Regions from separate parts of the Homo sapiens genome. Here all the other regions are linked to region 1. The links are contacts of gene promoters, found by promoter capture Hi-C in blood cells and fetal thymus (Javierre and others, 2016). All regions are on one chromosome and are shown on one strand. The core of a region is centred on a gene start or on the middle of the fragment in contact, and the rest is flanking DNA. Distances in the headings are between cores, read along the strand shown. Region 1 holds the start of RAB10 (RAB10, member RAS oncogene family). Region 2 overlaps ASXL2 (ASXL transcriptional regulator 2). Region 3 holds the start of GAREM2 (GRB2 associated regulator of MAPK1 subtype 2).

Region 1 (2,605 bases), core at 69-2,568:
GCTTGACTTCACTCCGTTGGGTTTGAGGACAGAAACTGATCATCTCCCTCAGATTACTGCTTCTGTTGATGTCTCGAAAAGCACTGAGGCAAATATGCCAGAGTCCCACCCCAAGCGCGAAGAGCCTCCGATTGTTTGACACATCAATGGATTAGTGAATGAGGGCAACTCACTCTTCCCTTCTAATTTACCTTAATTATTCTTCTCAGAAACCCTCAAGTTTACTCTAAGTTATCACCATATGGAATCTTTTCTTTGCCCCAAAGTATAAATTCAGGCCTTTCCCAAATAGCTAGTACTGCTTCAATCGCAACCACTGAAATAAATACCTTAAAAATATCACACATCTACTAATTCCACGCAAATGTGGAAAAAGCCAGTCCAGTCGCCTGAAGAAATAAGGTTCTGGAACATGGTTAAATGATGCATATTTTGTAACAGAAGGCACTGAGCATAGTGGGAGACTCGAAAGCAAAAGACCGGATGGAAATCATGGGAAGACCCCGCCCCAGTAAGCTCGATGCCGATTCAAACAGTAACTTGGATGTGTCGTTTGGAATCGGAATCACTGAAACAAAGGCGTATATTACGGGAAGCAAGATGTCTGGAGTAAAATAAACGGTATGCAGCTACCGAGACCGTACACCGTCCTCCCACAGGTCTTACCTATGGTGGAAATAAAGGTAGTATTGAAGGCATCATCCGAAAAACGAAAAAGGACGCAGGTCTTCCCCACTCCGGAATCCCCGATCAGGAGCAGCTTGAAAAGCAGGTCGTACGTCTTCTTCGCCATTGGGAGGAGCGGCTCGGGCTCTCGCCGCCGGCGGCCCCAAGGGATCGGTCCCTCTCACTACGGCCAACTCCTCACTCGGGCGTTCTCAGGCCGGAGGACCGGGGAAGCGTGGGAAAAAGGCTCGAGACGGCGCGGGCGACCTACGAACAGCTTTGAGGAAGCCCCGACAGTGGCGGCGTCCAGTGCCTCCGAGGGCGGCGACCGCGGCTCCGCAGCCTCTCCCAGCCCGTCCGCCCGGTTCCGGGGAGTCGGTCGGGACAAAATGGCCTCCCCTCCCCCCTCAGGGCTTCTCGGCCGGGACGCTCCCACGGGCGAGCAAGCCTGCTCTGCCGTCGAGGAGGCGCAGCGGGCGTGAGGACAGTCTCTCTCCCGAGCGGAAACTCCCTGCTAGCACGCGGCGAGGGCAGCGAAGAAGGACCCCTAAGTCGACGAGCTCAGTTACATAGCCCCAGGAAACCGAGCCACCCCGGCCAGAGCCACCTTTTCCCCGTGCCCTCTCACGCCGGCGTGCGCGCTGCCTGAGACGCACGCAAGGGCGTACGCCCGCCCTTCCCTCACGCCCTAGCCTTGCGGTCCGCCTCTGCGCACGCGCACAAGAGGGCATGGGGGCGCGCCGAAGTGGCGAGTGGAATGCTCCTGTCTCCAAGCCTCAGTCTGAGGCTGGACCCAGAGGGGAGAAGGGAGGGGCGAGAAAGGGCGAGGCCGCGGGCGCGCTCCCTGTGGCCGCCTGATAGGGTGCGCGGCGTTACGAGCACGCCCCGGGGGAGACGCTACCTAGCGACTGCGCAGGCGCAGCGCCCCCCCTCCGACCCCCGCCTCCCGCCTCCCGCTCCCCGCTCCCCGGGACACCCTTACAGAGCCCAGCACCTCCTTCCCCTCCCGGGGTCTCCCGCTGGACTGCGCTGCGGTTTCTCTGCACAGCGCTTGTCGGGTGTGTTGAGCTGGAGGTCTTGGCGCAGCGACGGGCTTGGGTGGCCATGTGTTCCCGTGTAGGTGGAGCTCGTAAACGCGAGAAAAAGCCGCGCCCTGGGTCATTTAATAGCCTCTTTGCTAGAACGAGACGCCTCCCGGCGTGCCCCCTCTCCAGGGCCAGCCCTGACGGGGAAACATGAGCGCTCCATCCGGATTGACTTCAAGAGCAAGAGTTTGAGATGGAAAAGCTGGCCACGCCGCTCGGGTTGGGATGAGGTAATCCTCACAACCTCTTCCTGGGCGAGGAGAGGAAGGTTGAGGAACACCTGGGCGCAGGAAGAACCTCCCTGCGAAGTGGAGGGTTCTGTGCGGTGCTCAGAGAACCTGCTTCAGGCCTTTGCCGTCCTTCAGGAATCCGGGAGAACCCGAGAGCGCTCTGCAGAGGAGGTGGGGCCTCTGCCTGCCGCCAGCGTCGTACCACTGGGTTGAAAATTGAAAGGTGGTCAAGCCTACTCCCAGTCCGACACAGCCTGCTTCCTCGCATTTTCTTTTTCTTTTTTTCTTTTCTTTCTTTTTTTTTTTTTTTTTTTTGAGATGGAGTTTCGCTCGTTTCCTCGCATTTTCTTTTTCTTTTTTTCTTTTCTTTCTTTTTTTTTTTTTTTTTGAGATGGAGTTTCGCTCTTGTTGCCCAGGCTAGAGTGCAATGGCACAATCTCTGCTCACTGCAACCTCCACCACCTGGGTTCAAGTGATTCTCCTGCCTCGGCCTCCCAAGTAGCTGGGATTACAGGCATGTGCTACCACGCCCGGCTAATTTTTTGTATTTAGTAGAGACGGGGTTTCACCCTGTTAGTCAGGCTGGTGTCGAACACCTGACAGGTGACCCGCCCGCCCCGGCCT
Region 2 (2,605 bases), core at 62-2,561, 180 kb after region 1:
TGAAATAAACACTGGTGTCAAAAAAAAAAAAAAAAAAAAAGTATAGGCCAGGTGAGCAGTGGCTCATGCCTGTAATCCCAGCACTTTGGGAGGCTGAGGTGGGCGGATCACCTGAGGTTAGGAGTTTGAGACCAGCCTGGCCGACATGGTGAAACCCCATCTCTAATAAAAATACAAAAATTAGCTGGGCATGGTGGTACAGGCCTGTAGTCCCAGCTACTTGGGAGGCTGAGGCAGGAGAATTGCTTGAACCCAGGAGGCGGAGGTTGCAGTGACCCGAGATTGCACTGCTGCACTCCAGCCTGGCGACAAAGTGAGACTCCGTCTCAAAAAACAAAAAACAAAAATTAGGTATGGTGGTGCATGCCTGTAATCCCAGCTACTCGGGAGGCTGAGGTCAGAGAATTGCTTGAACCCGGGAGACGGAGGCTGTGGTGAGCTGAGATCACGCCACTGCACTGCAGCCTGGCCGACAGAGCGAGACTCTGTCTCTAAATAAATAAATAAATAAATAAATAAATGCATTATCAAGATTGTGTTTCTGTCTCTCTCTCTTTTTTTTTTTTTTGAGACGGAGTCTCGCTCTGTCGCCCAGGCTGGAGTGCAGTGGCACGATCTCGGCTCACTGCAACCTCTGCCTCCCGGGATCAAGCAGTCCACTCAGCCTCTTGAGTAGCTGGGACCACAGGTGTGTGCCAGCATGCTCGGCTAATTTTTATATTTTTATTTATTTATTTGAGACAAGAGTCTCACTCTGTCGCCCAGCCTGGAGTGCAGTGGCATGATCTCAGCTCACTGCAACCTCCACCTCCTGGGTTCAAGTGATTCTCCTGCCTCAGCTTCCCAAGTTGAGATTACAGGCATGCACCACCACACCCAGCTCATTTTTGTGTTTTTAGCAGAGACGGGGTTTTGGCATGTTGGCCAGGCTAGTCTCAAACTCCTGACCTCAGGGAATCTGCCCGCCTTGGCCTTCCAAAGTGCTGAGATTACAGGCATGAGCTTAATTTTTATATTTTTAGTAGGGATAGAGTTTCACCATGTTTCCCAGGCTGGTCTCTAACTCCTGGGCTCAAAGCAATCCACCCACCTCGGCCTCCCAAGAAGTGCTGGGATTACAGATGTGAGCCACTGCGCCTGGCCTGTTACCAAGTTACTATCTATAAAGGTGTATCATTTTACCCTCTCCACTGTTTAGTGTGTATGTGCCTGTCTGATTCAACTCTTGAAGAATTTAATATTACCAGTTTAAAAATCTTTGCTATTTTGTTGAGTGATAGATAAACTTTGAGGTATCTGTCAAAAGGAGTAGGGAAGGTATGTCATATACAGAGCAGCATGAGCGAAGGTGGCATGCTGGCAGTGTGTGAGCGGCACTGTCTGCCAGAGCTGAGGAGGTTCTTGAGGGATATGTGTGTTGCAGGACACTGAAAGTTTCTATTTGGATGTGTTTCTTAATGGCTTGTGCTCTACAGTAAGCCTGTTCTTGACATCAGCTCCTCAAGACAGACACTGGCAGCAGTCTCTTAAAATGGCTTACTATAGAGGATGAGTGGAATAGGTCATAGTCTCTGCTGCAGTAGCTGGTTCCAAGGCCGTATTAATATTCATCATCTCCTTCTGCCACTGCCTAGTCTAGATTTCCGTCACTCATGGCCAGACTGCAGCTGATCAAGGTTGCTTGCCTGAAGCCATCATTCCTGAGGAGTCTAAGCCCCTATTTCTCTTTTCCATATCATGCCTTTGCCATATGCTGTACTTGCCTTTTATCATTAGATGTGGAAGCACTGAGGAGCACCTACTAGGTTAAGCTACAAATTGCTGTCACCTTCAGAGCCACCGAAGTGGTTGGCTCTTCTTTTTGAGGAATTATAACAGGGTTCTGAGAGTTGGATTCTGCTGATGACAAGTTGGACAACTCAGCAGCAGCAGTGGCTCTTTTCATTAATTAGCTGACAAAACCTTAGGCAAGTTATTTAATTTCTCTGCACTTCAGTTTTCACATCTGAAAAAAAATGGGCTGATAGTATCTACCTCATAGGTTTATTGTAAAGGTTAAATAAGCTAATATATCTAAATCACTTAGAATAGTGCTTGGCAGTTAAATGCTAGATAAGTATTAACTGTTAGTGTTATTAACTCTAAAGAGTTTGAAGAGAGTTTGGTTGAGAGCTTTTTTTCTTGAACTAGGGAGTGTGTATAACCTCCAGACTTTTTGGATAATTAAAAGAATCCAAGCTAGGAAAGACTAAACCCAAGTGACTTGATAGAGCTGTTCAGAATTGAGGGACCCCTAGGTAAACTATGCCCATGAGCTTACAATGTCAGCTTCTGTAATCTTCTCTGTATATCTGTAGGTGCCTCTCTGTATAGGTTTCGTATTTAAGTATTCTCAGCTACTTTTACACTCAAGTTTCTGCGCCCAAATCTGTAAATTTATTTGCATTTTCCCTCACCTTTTATCCTTTTTTAAAAAGAGGCATTTTTACTAGTGTCTGAAGCTAATCTTGCCACATATGTTCCTAATTCCATCAGCCAACCATTAAGTGTTTTAGATCTGTCATATAATAGGCACTAGTAATACTAGATGAATAAGGCTGGGCAT
Region 3 (2,605 bases), core at 44-2,543, 140 kb before region 1:
GCGACCTCCATTCACAGGCAGACACAGTACCACACTCTGACCACTCGGCCGCGAGCCAGAGAACTAGACGCTGGCCTGCCCGACGGCGGGGCGCCGATGCTCCCCCATGAGCCTGCTCCCGGGACAGCTGACGCCCACTGTGCCCACTCCTGGCCGCCACGGAGGAGGGGCTGCCGGGCCCCACGGGGAGACGAGGAGCCTGCGGCCGCGGGCCCCATTAGCATTCATGGAAGCGAGTGTGCCAACGCGGGCCAAACCCCTATTCTTCTCACACACAAAACCCCCGGCCTGGCTGCCAGCCCCGGCTACCGCCCATCCCCCAACCAAGCAGCACCCCCCTCCCCCCAAACGGTCCCCTCGCTCCATGCAGCCTCCGGGCGTACCCTCTCGGGCCCCCATGCGTGGTTCCATCAGCCGAGCGGCTGGGGGCCCCAGGTCCTATTAAGAAGTGGGACAAGATTCGGGGGAGGGCCGGGAGTTTGGGGGTCACGCCGGGCAGCAGACCCGGCTCCCGCCGGCCTCTCCCGAAGGTGGCCTGCCCGCCCCAGGACCGAGGCTGCTCCTAGGGAAGAGAAAGGAGGTGCAAGAAGGGTCCCCAGAGGGGCGGAGCAGGACTAGGGGTGGCGGTAAGGGGAAGACAGAGTCCGGGTCCCAGGGATGAGGGAAGACAGAGGTGAGAGGCCAGGGACAAAGGGACCAAGGGGGCGCGGCCGGGGCGGGGGGCCCAGGGGCAGCGGGGGAAAGGGGGGCAACCGACGGGGCGGGAGCAGGGGCTCGGCCCCTTTCCGGACTCCAGCTGGGCGGGAAAACTCTGTCCCGGGCCCTGTCCCCGGTGTCTGTGCCTGTGCTTGTCCGCGGGGCCCAGGAGGCGGACCTGGCGGGTGGGCCCCGCGTCTCCCGGGAGGCGCGCCAGGAACCGCTCGGGGCCCACGCCGGGGAGCTGGGAGGGTGCGGGTGCCGCACCCTCCTCACGATCCCTCTGGCCCCTGGCTGGAGAGCCCACCATTTCCCCGCGGACCCCGGTCCCCATCTCCAGCGACCCCGGTACCTGGCCCAAGGCAGGCGAGCGTGGGCAGGCGGCAGCGGCTGACGATGAGGTCGAGCGGGAAGGCGCCCATGCTCCAGCGCAGGCCGGCCAGCCCGGCCGCCAGCTTCTCCATGGCATGGGCGCCCCGGGGCCGCCGTCCCGGGGCCCCGACGGTCAGTCCCGCGCGGCCCAGGCTCTCGCGCCCGCCGCCACCTCCCGGGGCCGCCGCGGCGCTCGCCGCCTGGCAGCCCCGCCGGGCCGCGGGCGTCACGTGGCCGGCCTCCCCGCAGGGCGCCGACCCCGGCCCCGCCCCCGGGCCCCGCCCCCTCCTCCCGGACCCCGGCCCCCTCCTCCCGGACCCCCGCCCCCTGCTCTGTCCGCCCCGACCCGGACTCGCCGCCGGACCCACCCCCGGACCTCCGCCCCCAGCCCTGTCCGCCCTGCCCCGCCCCGGCCCCCTCTCCTCGGACCCCGTCCCCGCGCCCCCTTCTGGGACCCCGGGTCCCCAGCCCCGCGCTCCGTCCGCCCGCCCCTGCCCCCGCTCCCCGGCCCCCACCCGCCGCTGCCGCCAAGCCCCGCCTCCCCTCCCGCCAGCTTCCCCGCGCCCAGGTGACGGCGGGTGATGGAGGACCCCAGGGCGGGCGCCTGGAGGGACAACGAAGTCCCGAGCGGCATCTGCGGAGTCGGCGCGGGGTCGGCCTCCTCCTTCTGGCTGGGTGTGTCCGGGCCCCGCCGCTCCCCCTCGTGCTGGCCTCCCGGAGGCCGCGCCCACCCGCGCCCTGTCCTGCTCCGCCGCCCAAAGCTCGGGTTCTGAATTCTGCTCTTCCAGGACCTTCATCACCTCCGGCTCCGTGGAGCTGGGCGAGGCAGCCTCCTTAACCCCATTTTACTGATGAGCAAACTGAGGGGCAGAGGTCAGGTGGCAGCCAGGACTTCAACCTAGGTTGGACTTCAACCCAGATTTGACTCCAACCCTACTGCCCAAGAGCACCCTACAGCGCCCCACCATAGAGCACCTTCCACGTTCCCAGCGCCCCCTTAGCCGATAGCCCTGTGTCATGTAAACCGGCGCTCCAACCCTTCCACAGCACGCGGTGTGGACTGCGTCCATTCTGCAGATGAGGAGGCCGAGGTTCGAGGGCGTAACCGGTGCTGCGGTCTCCTCTCGGATCATTACAAGAACCGCCTTCCTCCCCCACCGCCACCATCCCTTCTCTCTTTTCCTTCTCTTTTTTTGAGACTGGGTCTCACTCTATCACCCAGCCTGGAGTGCAGTGGCGCGATCTCGGCTCACTGCAACCCCCACCTCCCGGGCTCAAGCGATCCTCCCACCTCAGCCTGCGGAGTAGCTGGGATGACAGGCACCTGCCACCACTCCTGGCTAATTTTTTTGTATTTTTAGTAGAGACGGCGTTTCACCATGTTGGCCAGGCTGGTCTTGAACTCCTGACCTCAAGCGATCCTCCCGACTCGGCCTCCCAAAGTGCTGGACTTACAGGCGTAAGCCACCGCGCCCAGCCTTCGTTCCCTTCTTTTAATTTGCGTTTCCTTTTCTGCTGTCCTCACCTCTTCCTTCCA

Evidence for each region. Contacts are between HindIII fragments. The CHiCAGO score rates a contact against its expected background, and 5 or more counts as called.
Region 2: a contact is called between a fragment that was not itself captured here and the fragment with the promoter of RAB10 in region 1, in 1 of 17 cell types (megakaryocytes). The highest score is 6.0, in megakaryocytes.
Region 3: the fragment with the promoter of GAREM2 here is called in contact with the fragment with the promoter of RAB10 in region 1 in 11 of 17 cell types (activated CD4 T cells, naive CD8 T cells, naive CD4 T cells and 8 more); the score reaches 8.9 in activated CD4 T cells.

Annotation. Positions count from the first base shown.
Region 1 is chr2:26,032,797-26,035,401 of GRCh38, reverse strand. It overlaps RAB10 (RAB10, member RAS oncogene family), which reads right to left and starts at 1,318. Exons shown (of 6, transcript NM_016131.5): 1 at 667-1,318. The coding sequence starts at 793. LOC124907743 (a long non-coding RNA gene) reads left to right here and starts at 1,653. Exons shown (of 2, transcript XR_007086249.1): 1 at 1,653-1,724. RefSeq lists an enhancer at 1,063-1,112 and a silencer at 1,423-1,652. The HindIII fragment of the contact is 14,591 bases long and covers 1-2,605 here.
Region 2 is chr2:25,853,799-25,856,403 of GRCh38, reverse strand. The region is part of intron 1 of ASXL2 (ASXL transcriptional regulator 2); the gene reads left to right. Among named protein-coding and RNA genes, the nearest start is that of ASXL2, 23 kb to the left of the region's middle. The HindIII fragment of the contact is 5,052 bases long and covers 1-2,605 here.
Region 3 is chr2:26,171,776-26,174,380 of GRCh38, reverse strand. It overlaps GAREM2 (GRB2 associated regulator of MAPK1 subtype 2), which reads right to left and starts at 1,293. Exons shown (of 6, transcript NM_001168241.2): 1 at 1,049-1,293. The coding sequence starts at 1,160. The HindIII fragment of the contact is 3,276 bases long and covers 1-2,605 here.